3 separate regions of the Homo sapiens genome follow, and regions 1 and 2 are each linked to region 3. The links are contacts of gene promoters, found by promoter capture Hi-C in blood cells and fetal thymus (Javierre and others, 2016). All regions are on one chromosome and are shown on one strand. The core of a region is centred on a gene start or on the middle of the fragment in contact, and the rest is flanking DNA. Distances in the headings are between cores, read along the strand shown.

Region 1 (4,019 bases), core at 195-2,694, 440 kb after region 3:
CATTTTCCACCAAAAGCGACTTCTCCTGGGAATTGGATGTGATTATATGAAATATTTAAATGATTTTGGGGAGAATTTCACATCTAAAAATAATGAGCCTTTCAATGATTAACATAGTATATATTCTTTATTTATTTAGGGTTTAATTTCCCTTAATAGTGTTTTGTAGTTTTCAGCATAGAAGTCTTATACATCTTTCATTATATTCATTCACCTAAGAGTGTTTTATGTTTTTCAAAAGCTTTTCTAAGTTTCTAACATTTGTTGCTGGCATGTAGAAATACAAGTGATTTTTGTATATTGACCTTGTATACGGCAATGCTGCTAAATGCACTTATTACTGAAAATCATTTATTGGTAGGTTCATTTGGATTTTCTAATAACACAATCATGTTATTTGCAAATAATAACAGTTTTATAGTTTTCTTTTCTACGTGGATGCCTTTCATCTCCATTCTTTGTCCTTCTACACTGACTAAGACCTTCAATACAATATTGAATAGAGGTGGTGATAATGGACATCTTTGTCTTGTTCTTGGTTTCAGGGAGAAAACTTTCAACATTTTACCAATTCCTATGATGGTTTCTGTAGACTTCTTTTTCAGATCATGGAAGTGTTATTTTATTCTTAGTTTTCTAAGAGTTTTTAATCATTAATTTTGTTAAATGCCTTCTCTGCATCTATTGAGATAATCATGGGAGTTTTCTCATTTTTTTCTTTCTGTGAATATGGTGTATTAGTTAGGGTTTTTCAGAGAGAAACAGAACTAATAGGATAGGTAGATAGAGAGATATAGATAGATAGATATAGGTATAGGTGGATAGATATAGATAGGTAGGTAGATAGATAGATAGATAGATAGATAGATAATTAGTCTATTTTCATTCTGCTGATGAAGACATACCTGAGACTGGGCAATTTACAAAAGAAAGAGGTTTATTGGACTTACTGTTCCACATGGCTGGGGAGGCCTCACAATCCTGGAGGAAGGCAAGGAGGAGCAAGTCACATTTTATGTGGATGGCAGCAAACAAAGAGAGAGAGCTTGTGCAGGACAACTCCTGTTTTCAAAACCATCAGATCTCATGAGACTCATTCACTATCATGAAACAGCATGGGAAAGACCTGCCCCATAATTCAATCATCTCCCACTGCGTACCTCCCACAACACGTGGGAATTATGGGAGCTACAATATGAGATTTTGGTGGGGACACAGAGCCAAACCATATCATTCTGCCCCTAGATACAATGAAGGTATAGGCACTGGGTAAATACAACCATTCCAAATGGGAGAAATTGGCCAAAACAGAGAGGCTACAGGCCCCATGCAAGTCCAAAATCCAGCATGGCAGTCAAATCTTAAAGCTCCAAAATGATCTCCTTTGAGTCCACGTCTTACATCCAGGTCATGTGGATGCAAGAGGTAGGTTCCCATAGTCTTCAGCAGCTCCGCCCCTTTGCAGGGTGCAGCCTCCCTCCTGGCTGCTTTCATGGGCTGGTGTTGAGTGTCTGCAGCTTTTCCAGGCACATGGTGCAAGCTGTCAGTAGATCTACCATTCTGGGATCTGGAGGATGGTGGCCCTCTTCTCACAGCTCCACTAGGCAGTGCCCTGGTAGGGCTACAAGATGAGATTTGGGCAGGGACACAGAGCCAAACCATATTAGATAGATAGATAGATAGATAGATAGTTAGATAGATATAGATTTGCTATAAGGAATTGGCTCATGTGATAATGGAGGCTGAGAAGTCCCAAGATTTGCAGTGGGCAAGGTGGAGAACCAGGAGAGCTGCTGATCCAAAGGCCAGCAGCCTCAAGACCTAAGAAGAGTTATGTTTCTCTCTGAGCCCAAAAGCCTGCAAGACCAATGTCTCAGGTCAACAAGTCTGGTAGGAGGCATTCCCTCTTACTCAATCTTTTTATTCTACTTAAGTCTTCAGTTGATTGGGTGAGGTCCACCCACATTGGGGAGGGCAATCTGTTGTGCTCAGTCTACTGATTGAAATGTTAATCTCATCCAGAAACACCCTCACAGACATACTTAGAATAATGTTTGGCTAAATATCTGAGCCACCTGTGGCTCAGTCAAGTTGATACATAAAATTAACCATCACAAGTAGTGAATTACTCTGATTTTTTTTTTTAGATTTACAGAGAAGTTGCAAAGATGACACAAAGAGTTTCTCATATGCCCTTCATTCAGTTTCCCCTATTGCTTTTTATATCTTATTCATTTATCTTTATTTTTAATTTTTGTGGGTACATAGCAGTGTATGTATCTATGCGGTACATGAGATATTTTGATACAGGCATGCAATTTGTAATAATCACATCAGGGGAAATGGGGTGTTCATCACTTCAAGCATTTATCATTTTTTTGGTGTTACAAACAATCCAATTATACTCTTTTAGTTATTTTAAAAATATTTAATACATTATTGTTGACTTTAGTCACCCTGTTGTGCTATCAAATACTATATCTTATTCATTCTATCTGAATATATCTTTGTACTCCTTAACTGTCCCTACCCTCCACCCCTTTCTACCCTTCCCAGCCTCCAGTAACCATCATTCTACTCTCATCTCCATGAATTCCATGGTTTTAATTTTTAGCTCCCACAAATGAGTGAGAACATGTAAAGCTTGTCTTTCTGTGCCTGGCTTATTTTACTTAACATAATGTCCTCCATTTCCATCCATGTGGTTGCAAATGACAGAATCTCATTCTTTTCTATGGCTGAATAGTACTCCATTGTGCATATGTACCACATTTTATTTATTCTTTTGTTGATGGACACCTCGGTTCCAAATCTTGGATATTGTGAATAGTGCTGCAATGCATGAGAGTGCAGACATCTCTTTGATTTACTGATTTACTTTCTTTTAGGTATATCCCTATCAGTGGGATTGCTGGATCCTATGGTAGTTCTATTCTTAGTTTTCTTTTTGTTTTTTGATTATTTTTTTCTTTTTTGGGATGGAATCTCGTTCTGTTGCCCAGGGTGGAGTGCAGTGGTATGATCTTGGCTCACTGCAACCTCCACCTCCCAGGTTCAAGAGATTCTCCTGCCTCAGCCTCCTGAGTAGCTGGGATCACAGGCACGCACCGCCATGCCCGGCTATTTTTTGCATTTTTAGTAGAGACAGGGTTTCGTTGTGTTGGCCACGCTGGTCTCGAACTCCTGACCTCAGGTGATCCACCCGCCTTGGCCTCCCAAAGTGCTGGGATTGCAGGCAGGAGCCACTGCGCCCTGTCTATTTTTAGTTTTCTGAGGAAGCTCCATGTTGTTTTCCAAGTGGCTGCACTAATTTACATTCCCACCAACAGTGTACGAGGGTTCCCTTTCTCAACACTCCAGCATTCATTATTTCCTGCCTTTTAGATAAAAGCTATTTTAACTAGTATGAGATGATGTCTCATTGGAGTTTTGATTTGTGTTTCCCTGATGATCAGTGATGTTGAGCACCTGTTCACATAGCTGTTTGCCATTTGGATGTATTCTTTTGAGAAATGTCTATTCAATCTTTTGCCCATTTTAAATCAAATTGTTAGATTTTTTTTCCTATTGAATTGTTTGAGCTCCTTATATATTCTGGTTATTAATCCCTTGTCAGATGGATAGTTTGCAAATATTTTCTCTCATTCTGTGGATTGTCTCTTCACTTTGTTGCTAGTTTCCTTTGCTATGCAGAAGCTTTTTAATGATGTGATTTTTTAAAATGTGATTCCATTTGTCCATTTTTTGCTTCGGTTGCCTGTGCCTGTGAAGTATTACTCAAGAAATCTTTGTTCGTACCAATGTCCTGGAGAGTTTCTCCTATGTTTTCTTTTAGTAGTTTCATAGTTTCAGGTTTTAGATTTAAGTCTTTAATCCATTTTGATTTGATTTTTGTGTATGGTGAGAGAGCGATCTGGTTTCATTCTTCTGCATATGAACATCCAGTTTTCCCAGCACAATTTACTGACGAGACAATCCCTTTCTCAATACATGTTCTTGAAAGCTTTGTTGAAAATGAG
Region 2 (3,855 bases), core at 620-3,119, 410 kb after region 3:
GCAAAGTGTTTGTGACCTGTTAGGAAAGCAGCAGTTTGGAGGCAGGCAGTGTTCCGAGCAGCCTTTGGTAAAGCGCTCACCTGGAGAACAGCATCAGCTTCCCAGCTGGGTCCCAGCCAGGCCCCTGCATCCGTTAGGCTCAGGACCAAGCATCTCATGGGTCTCCACAAAAGTCAGGGGCCAAAAAAAACAAAAACAAAAACAAAAAAAAAAAACCACATATGGGGTTAGTTGATTTTATGTCGATTTCTTTAATTGGTTAAATTGAGTATTAACATAAAGCTATCTTGAAAACAATCACTGGGTTCAATTTTCCTACTTTGCAAGGATTCCTGAGGATAGTATCACCCTTAAAGTTGAGCATTTGGGGGTCTCGGCCCAGGGCTCTGTGACTTTGAGGGTCCCACTCTGGTCTGCCTCCTCCAGCAGAACCACTTAGCTGGGAAGGCCAAGGGCACGAGCCCACCTGAAGCCCACACCAGGTGTCTGGGATCCTGGGATTCCTCACCCTCAAACCCTAAGCCTTTTTCTAAGGACTGTGCAGGCCTCTTCCCTGGGTCTCCCCTGTGGGCAGACCACACTGCTGGAATGTTCATCCTGGACCTGAGGTGGGGTGGGGTTGGGAGAGTTGATTAAGGGGCAGGGTGGATGGAGCTCGGACATGAGGGCCGAGATGCCCGTAGCCATGCATGTGAGGCCTTTACAGATGTGGGACCAGCCTCCGTGTGTACCTTTATCCCAGCCTCACGAAGATGAGGAGTGAGTCTGTAGGTGTGCACAGTCATTGTCCACAGATCACAGCCGAGAGTCAATGAAATGTATTACAGCCAAGGAACTTCAGAAAAAAATTAAAAAATTTTTTTTCCGAATACATATTCTAGCATGGAAGAATGACATTTCAAATGTAGATTGTGGTGTTGACCAATAGAAAGAGATGGAAGCGAAATTAACACAGGTAGAGAGTTTATTTGGGCCACAGTTGAGGACTGTAGTCCAGGAAGCACTCCCAAGTTACCTTGGAAAGTGCTCCAGAGAAGAGAGGCTCGAGCTTTTAAATACAAGAGGACAAATCAGGAAAGGGGCGATTGCGAAATTGTTTTTCAGGAATTCTCATCGGTTTACAGAAATAACATTGATGAGTGATTATCTATATGTTGTTGAACTACAGGGCACGGGTTATGGTGTCCAGTGTGTGGCATTGTTAGGTTCATCCATAGCTACTGGTACCAGTCAGCCTAGAGCCCACACAGCAAGCGGCCTCAGGAGATTTCTTTTCTCAGGTGGGGCAGTGAGATGTGACAGCTGTCTCATTCCAGTGCCTCTCTAGGCCTGATCATTTAAAGGGGGCTCGCCTTCCTCAGATAAAAAGTTTCTTTTCTTTGTAGTGGGTACATTTCAACGTGCTGGGTCTGATGCACACTGGGGCTTCTCAAACTCTGAATCCTGCAGCTTCTGAAGTGGCCACCATGCCCTCCCCAGAATCCACTTCTCTTTCCTTCAATTCCACTGTGCCCAGCAGCCAGCACCACCCCTTGAAAACCCAAATCTTAGCTGAGCCTGGTGGCTTACGCCTGTAATCGCAGCACTTTGAGACGCCAAGGCAGGCAGATCGCCTGAGGTCAGGAGTTCAAGACCAGCCTGGCTGACATAGCAAAATCCTGTCTCTACTTAAAAATACAAAAATACAAAAATTGGCATGGTGGTGGGCGCCTGTAGTCCCAGCTACACAAGAGGCTGAGGCAGGAGGCTTGCTTGAACCTGGGAGGTAAAGGTTGCAGTGAGCCGAGATTGCGCCACTGCACTCCAGCCTGGGTGACAGAGCAAGACTCCATGTCAGAAAAAAAAACCCGAAACCAAAAAAAAACAAAAAATGAAAACTCCAAAATCTTATGGTATTACTGCCCTCCTGAAATCCCTTTAGTAGCTCGCCACGGCCCTCAGGATGAAGTTCCACCCCTGGCTCGGCTCTCCAGGCCCTTGGCCATCTGGTTTCCACTGACTTCAGCTTCATCTCTTCCCCTCCCCGCCCAGCCTTAGTTACGTTGCTTGCAGCGCTCCTTGGGTTTCCACAGCTGCACCCCTGCTGGAGGCCTCCCGTCACCCCACGTCCCCTTGCGTCCCCCCGCGTCCCCCCGCCTCAGCCCACTCTGGCTGCTTGCTTCTCTAACACCTGACTCGGGCTTTTCCTGGGTTCCCTTAGCCCTGTTCTTCCCTTTTCCCTGTTACCAACTGTCCCTGTGGGCAGGGATGACTCTTCTCCACCCACCTGTGACCTGTGGAGGGCACAGCTGTGTCTGAATCATCTCCCTGCCCTGGGCACAGCTTGGAGCACACTCAGAAGTGGGCCTTCAGTGCTGAGGATGGAAGTCTAAAAAAATGCATGAATTCTAACCCAGCCCGGTTGCTAGAAGACTAGAAACTAGCCTTAAAAATGATCTCGCAAGAGTTTCCTTTGGGAGGGAATGGCCTTACATAGAGCCCCGTGCTGGTTATGGGAGGAACCCTCACTGTCACGCTGGGCCACACCGTGTGGAACCTGTCCCCCAGGTGGAGCCTGTGTTGTCTTCTGTGTCTGGTGCGGCTCCGAGGAGCACTGAGTGACCTGAAAGCCCAGAGCATGCTGTGCACTCGCCTTCTTTCCTTTCATGCCACATCTCTGCGGATTTGATTCTCAACGAAATAGCCCAAGGCTGCTGCATGTGAATCTCAACTGCAGTCTGTTTCCCATGCGGAAAGAGGGACGTGAGAAAATCAACCTGCACCTCTGGGAAAATGCTATTTTCTGGGGAGCTAATCTGCTCAGCTTCAGGAGCAGCAAGGGTAACTTGGAGGATGAATCTGCCCCGAAATACAGCAAAGTCACTCTTACCGGGAAAGTGGGAAGAAGATTAATCTGAATAGTAAGAAGTCAGAATTATGGATTATTATCGTCCAAGAAAATGCATGCTCATTAATTGTAAGTTCATAACACAGACAGTGATGACCACTAGATTCACAAATAATCATCCAGCAGGCCTCCTTAGAGATGAAGTTTAAGGAAAACACAATGATTTACTATTCATACTTGGAAGGTATGTGTGGCAGGTTTCACTTTCCAAGGTGGCCAAAATAAGGCCTCCCATCCTGCATGCTCTTTTTTACAATGTGGCAATGATAGTCCTCCTGTTGAGAGGTAGGACTATGTTCCCTTCCTTGAAACCAGGCTGGCCTGTGAGTTTGGTAAAACTTACACGACTGACAAGACTAGGCCGTAAAAGGCAATACACCTTCTGCCCACCTCTCTCAGGACGCTGGGCCTCAGAACACAGCCGCCATGCTAGGAGGAAGCCCAGTCCACACACAGAGGCCAGCACTCCCAGCTGGGATCCCAGCCAACAGGCAACACCAATGCCAGCTGTGTGAGTGAGGAAGCCTTCAGATGACTCAAACACAAGCCACTGACTGCAACTGGATGAAAGACCCAGATAAGCTGAGCCTAGTTAGTCCCCAGGGCTGGGGGAAATAGTCATCCAATGCTTGTTACAAAACACTCATGGCTGTCTTAAGCCACTTGGTTCTGGGGTGATTTATTAGCCAGCAAGAAGTAACTGGAAGGCCGGGCATGGTGGCTGATGCCTGTAATCCCAGGACTTTGGGAGGCCAAGGTGGGCAGATCACCTGAAGTGAGGAGTTTGAGACCAGCCAACGCATGGTGAAACCCCACCTCTACTAAAAGTACAAAAATTAGCTGGGTGTGGTGGCGCATGCCTGTAATTCCAGCTACTTGGGAGGCTGAGGCATGAGAATTGCTTGAACCTGAGAGGCGGAGGTTGCAGTGAGCCAATATGGCGCTGCTGCACTCCAGCCCGGGCAACA
Region 3 (4,258 bases), core at 938-3,437:
TGCCTCCTTTTACCCTTCAGGGAATAGCGTCCCACTAAAAGAGAACACTATTGTAATGATACTTCCAGGCAAGAAACCTGTCTTTATGATGTAAAACAGGGCTACCAGATCCAGATAAGGTCTGCCATTAGGATGCTTCAGAAGTCATAACATTTCAAAGAAAAAAAAATTTTTAAGTAATTCCTACATTAATAATTGCTAGTTAGTGAATTTAGTTTTTAAGCACATCGTATTTTTATATAAATATAAATTTTTATAACTTAAAATTCTAAACTTAATTTCCTGAGACAAAATTGGTCCTTTCACTCTGATTATCAATGTCAAGACAGCAGCTTCTTATTTGACAGTCAGTATTTAACTATATTTTACATCTACTGAGTGTTTCAGGGCCTTAAAGTTCATTATGATTATTATATTATTAATTACAACGTGCACTGTAACATTCCCTTTTTAAAGAGGTGCAAATAGAAGTTAAATAACTTATCCAAGGTCACCCAAACAAGTCAGTGACAAAGTTGGGAGTAGGAGTAAAACTTCAGCCCCTAGACTGAAGACTACTTCGAGCTTTTGCAATTCCAAACGAGGAAAAAAAAAAGGTCAAGCGATTTACCCTTAATAACTTCCAACAGCATACCCTAAATACAGTGGTACACTTATTATCATAAAGACTAAGAAAAAAAGATTCACCCTGAATCAAAGAAACAACTTTGCTACATTTAGATACCACTGTCATTTCCCTAGCTCTTGTAACAAGCGAAAATCCTGTACTGGATCTGGCTATATTAAATCCTGAAGAATGTTCACTCTTCAATATGAACAATTTATTTTCATGCTAACATGCATTTACGACTTAATCTTTTATCACCTTGTCCTATTTGGAGGTGCTGTGGGATGCATTAATTTCCTCACTCTTCCATGACATCAAGTCAAAGACTACAATCTCAAAAATAAGCAATTCTCAGTGAAAACATAGTTACATAGCCAATGAAAGAAAAACTCTAATAAATGGCTGCTTTTAAAGAGATACTTTTAAAGGATGCTTACATGTTTCACAGAATTACCGGTAACTCGCCCGCCAAGAAGGATGGTCCCTTTAAAGCAGCTTTTAAAGCATATCACTCCCTGTTTGGGACACAGTCTGACTTGTTGGACAAGATTAATCTGGGCACTCTCACACAACCCCTCTGAACCAGCTTAGTTCACTGGAAACATCATTTCAACTGTAGTACTCAGCCCTTCGCATACTACAAGGGACAAGATGACTCTCCTTAACAATCTTTCAGAAGGTCCCCACGGCGGAGACAGTGACAGCCGTCCTCCCGCGGATGTTTTTGGAAATAGAAATGTTAACACCAGGAGAGGCTCCTAGGAAGTGTCAGTGCGGCAGCAGGTGGAGTAGCCCTGCGTGCCGAGCAGGTTCTTTCTGACCTAGTCTCAATGCTCCGCTTCCCGGCCCCGGTTCCGCCTTACAGAGATCTTGTTAAGCCGTCTTGCGTCCCTGTTCTCTAACCCAGGGCGAGACTTCCAACCCTCCAGGGAGGCGAGGCAATCGAAGCAGACAAGACGGCCACCTCACCTCTTCCGGGGACTCGCAGGCCCGCTCCCTGGCCATGTCAGAGCCTGATGGACCAGGCTGGAGGGGACGCAGCCGGCTCCCCCGGGAGCCTCCCAGCCAGAACCCCCGCGCCCCACGGTCCCTTTCCACTGCCCCCACCCCTTCGAAACGCCACCGCCACCACCCTCCTTACTCCTGAATCCCCTCTCCTCAGGAGTACCCCAGTGGAGTTACCGGCCCACTCAAAAGTAAGAGCGACGGCCACCCCTCTCGGTCACCCTGGCCCCACTGTCACCGCCCTGCTCCCGGCCTCTGCCTACGCCGCTGGCTGGCTCCGGTGACGCCCGGGTCGGTACCTTGCGGACCCCCTTGTAGATATAGAAGTACAGCTCCCGGCCCACATTGAAGCAGAGGCGGTCGCCGTTGCCAGACTGGTCGTTGAGGTTTACGAAGGAGACGCGGACAGGGTTGGATCCCTGCGAGTTGAAGGGCACCCGGTTGGGCCGGCTGTACTCCGAGTGCGGCAGCAGCTTGTACAGACCTTCCCGGGTGGTGAATTGGGTCTTAATCTCGTTCATCTCCTTCCCTCCTCCCTCCGTCGCCATCTTGGAAAGCAGCGTTCATCCTGCCCTAAGTGCCCGGATCACGCCCACCGCGCAGGCGCTGTTCCTGGTGCTCCCTCTTCCCCCACCCCCTGCCTCTTCCTTCTCGCCCCTCCCACCCGCGGGCCAGCCCTGCGAGGGCGGGCCAAAGGGAAGGGGTGGGCTTGTTTACGGCCCGACTGCGCAGGCGTGCTCACCTGGCGTGCTCCACCCGACTGGGCGTCCGCAGGCTCCTCCCCCGGGTGTGGCCTCCGGGCGGCATGGCTGCTTCCCAGGTGATGCCGGCTTCAGCTAGTGGGGTCTAGTTGACCGTTCCGCAGCCGCCAGGGCCAGCGGAAAGCCGGTCAGGGGGAACCGCGGCGGGGCTGGTGTCATGAGCCTGAGGTGAACTTGAGGGTGCCTCCTCAGCGGTCTCCCGCCCTGCCCTGAGGGGCGCCGGGACCCCAAAGAGCGGAGGAAGAGCGCCACCCCGACGGCCACCGCTTCGGAGCCAGCACGCGGGGTACCCTACGGGGAGCGCGGATGCCCCCGTGTTCGGGCGGGGACGGCTCCACCCCTCCTGGGCCCTCCCTTCGGGACAGGGACTGTCCCGCCCAGAGTGCTGAATACCCGCGCGACCGTCTGGATCCCCGCCCAGGAAGCCCCTCTGAAGCCTCCTCGCCGCCGTTTCTGAGAAGGTACCAAGGGACTCAAGATTTACGCTTCACTATGTTTTATTTCAGGCGGGGTAGGGGGAGAGAAGAATGTGGTACAGCATAGGTGTTCTCAAGCCAGATATCCTAATTCCTGCGTGTGATGAGCACTGGCGGCCTCCGCTTCTTAGCGGAGGTTTGTCCTCTCCAGCTGTTCAGAAACACGGGGCGGGGAAGCGCTTTGGGAACCGGGGACTGAATCTTTTTAGGATTCACTGATCTTGCTCAGTAGGTTACGAAGAGCTCTTAATAAAATTTAAGGTAATTGTTTTTTTTTCCAGAAGCCTCAGGTGGAGTCTGTGAGATTATTTACTAGTAGATCCATAGGGATAGTTGTATGCATGTAATGTACAGGGTCTAGATTTATAAGGACGGGCACACGTGTCAAAGTAAGATTCAACAATCACTATTTTATACCTGGGTTTCTTGGCATGTTACACCAGAATAAGAAAGCTTCTAAAGTGACAGAAACATTCTAATAGAATTCCAGGGAGGGGGGAAGCCAACATTTGTAACACCAAGAATGATCTATTCCTGGAAGTTCAGATTATATCTGGAGGGGCACAAAAGAAGTGAATGGAGAGAATTTCTAAAGTAGGAGGAGTGTAAATCATAAACATCTTCCGTATTAAAAAGCAAGTAGATACCAATAGAAACTGTGCCAATGATGTAGTAATACATTTGATAATAACATCTTTAGCCTTTGTAGTGTTGGAAAAAAAAAAGAAAAAAAAGCACTGAAGTACTTCTTAATTAATAGAGCCTGAAAAATACTTAAAATTTTTTCTTAGAATTGTTTTGATGTTATCCGACTTTCCCTAATCTTAAAACACCAGGGTATGTTCTGTCGTTACCATGGCTATATCCCAAACTCCATAACTGTGTTATTTTACATTGAAAACACGTATTTTACAATAATCAACTTGAAGGATAGTGGCATCTTGAATCATCTAAAAATAATTTATCTGTGTTTCCTAATTATCAAGAGGAAAAAAAGTATAATTTTTGGGGGGGGAAAAAAACCCAGCGAGCAAAAGTTAAAACAAAATTTTGTATTATTCTTCAATTAACCATAACATTGTATTTCCCATAATACCTATATAATTCAAGCATTCTATCAAGATTTTACCCTATATAAATTCAACATTTTATTATAATCACAGTAATAAACTGTTCACTTTGTCTCATGCATAGCCTTTGGTTTAGTTTTGTTTTTTTTTTCTTAGATGGAGTCTCGCTGTCGCCATGCTGGAGTGCAGTGGTGCAATCTTGGCTCACTGCAACCTCTGCCTCCCAGGTTCAAGCGATTCTCCTGCTTCAGCCTCCCGAGTAGCTGGGACTACAGATGTGCACCACCACGCCCAGCTAATTTTTGTATTTTTAGTAGAGATGGGGTTTCACCATGTTGG

Evidence for each region. The method cuts DNA at HindIII sites, captures the fragments that hold promoters and counts their contacts. A CHiCAGO score of 5 or more calls a contact.
Region 1: a contact is called between a fragment that was not itself captured here and the fragment with the promoter of WDR20 in region 3, in 3 of 17 cell types (total CD8 T cells, fetal thymus and total B cells). The highest score is 8.3, in total CD8 T cells.
Region 2: a contact is called between a fragment that was not itself captured here and the fragment with the promoter of WDR20 in region 3, in 1 of 17 cell types (fetal thymus). The highest score is 5.0, in fetal thymus.

What each region holds. Positions count from the first base shown.
Region 1 is chr14:101,699,816-101,703,834 of GRCh38, reverse strand. The region is part of intron 1 of LINC02320 (long intergenic non-protein coding RNA 2320); the gene reads left to right. Among named protein-coding and RNA genes, the nearest start is that of LINC00239, 29 kb to the left of the region's middle. The HindIII fragment of the contact is 2,402 bases long and covers 244-2,645 here.
Region 2 is chr14:101,732,888-101,736,742 of GRCh38, reverse strand. No RefSeq gene overlaps it. Among named protein-coding and RNA genes, the nearest start is that of LINC02320, 3.5 kb to the right of the region's middle. The HindIII fragment of the contact is 5,667 bases long and covers 1-3,855 here.
Region 3 is chr14:102,137,826-102,142,083 of GRCh38, reverse strand. It overlaps WDR20 (WD repeat domain 20), which reads right to left and starts at 2,187. Exons shown (of 3, transcript NM_144574.4): 1 at 1,912-2,187. The coding sequence starts at 2,160. It also overlaps a transcript of HSP90AA1 not described here. RefSeq lists enhancers at 1,932-2,091, 2,102-2,151 and a silencer at 2,752-2,947. The HindIII fragment of the contact is 7,184 bases long and covers 1-3,304 here.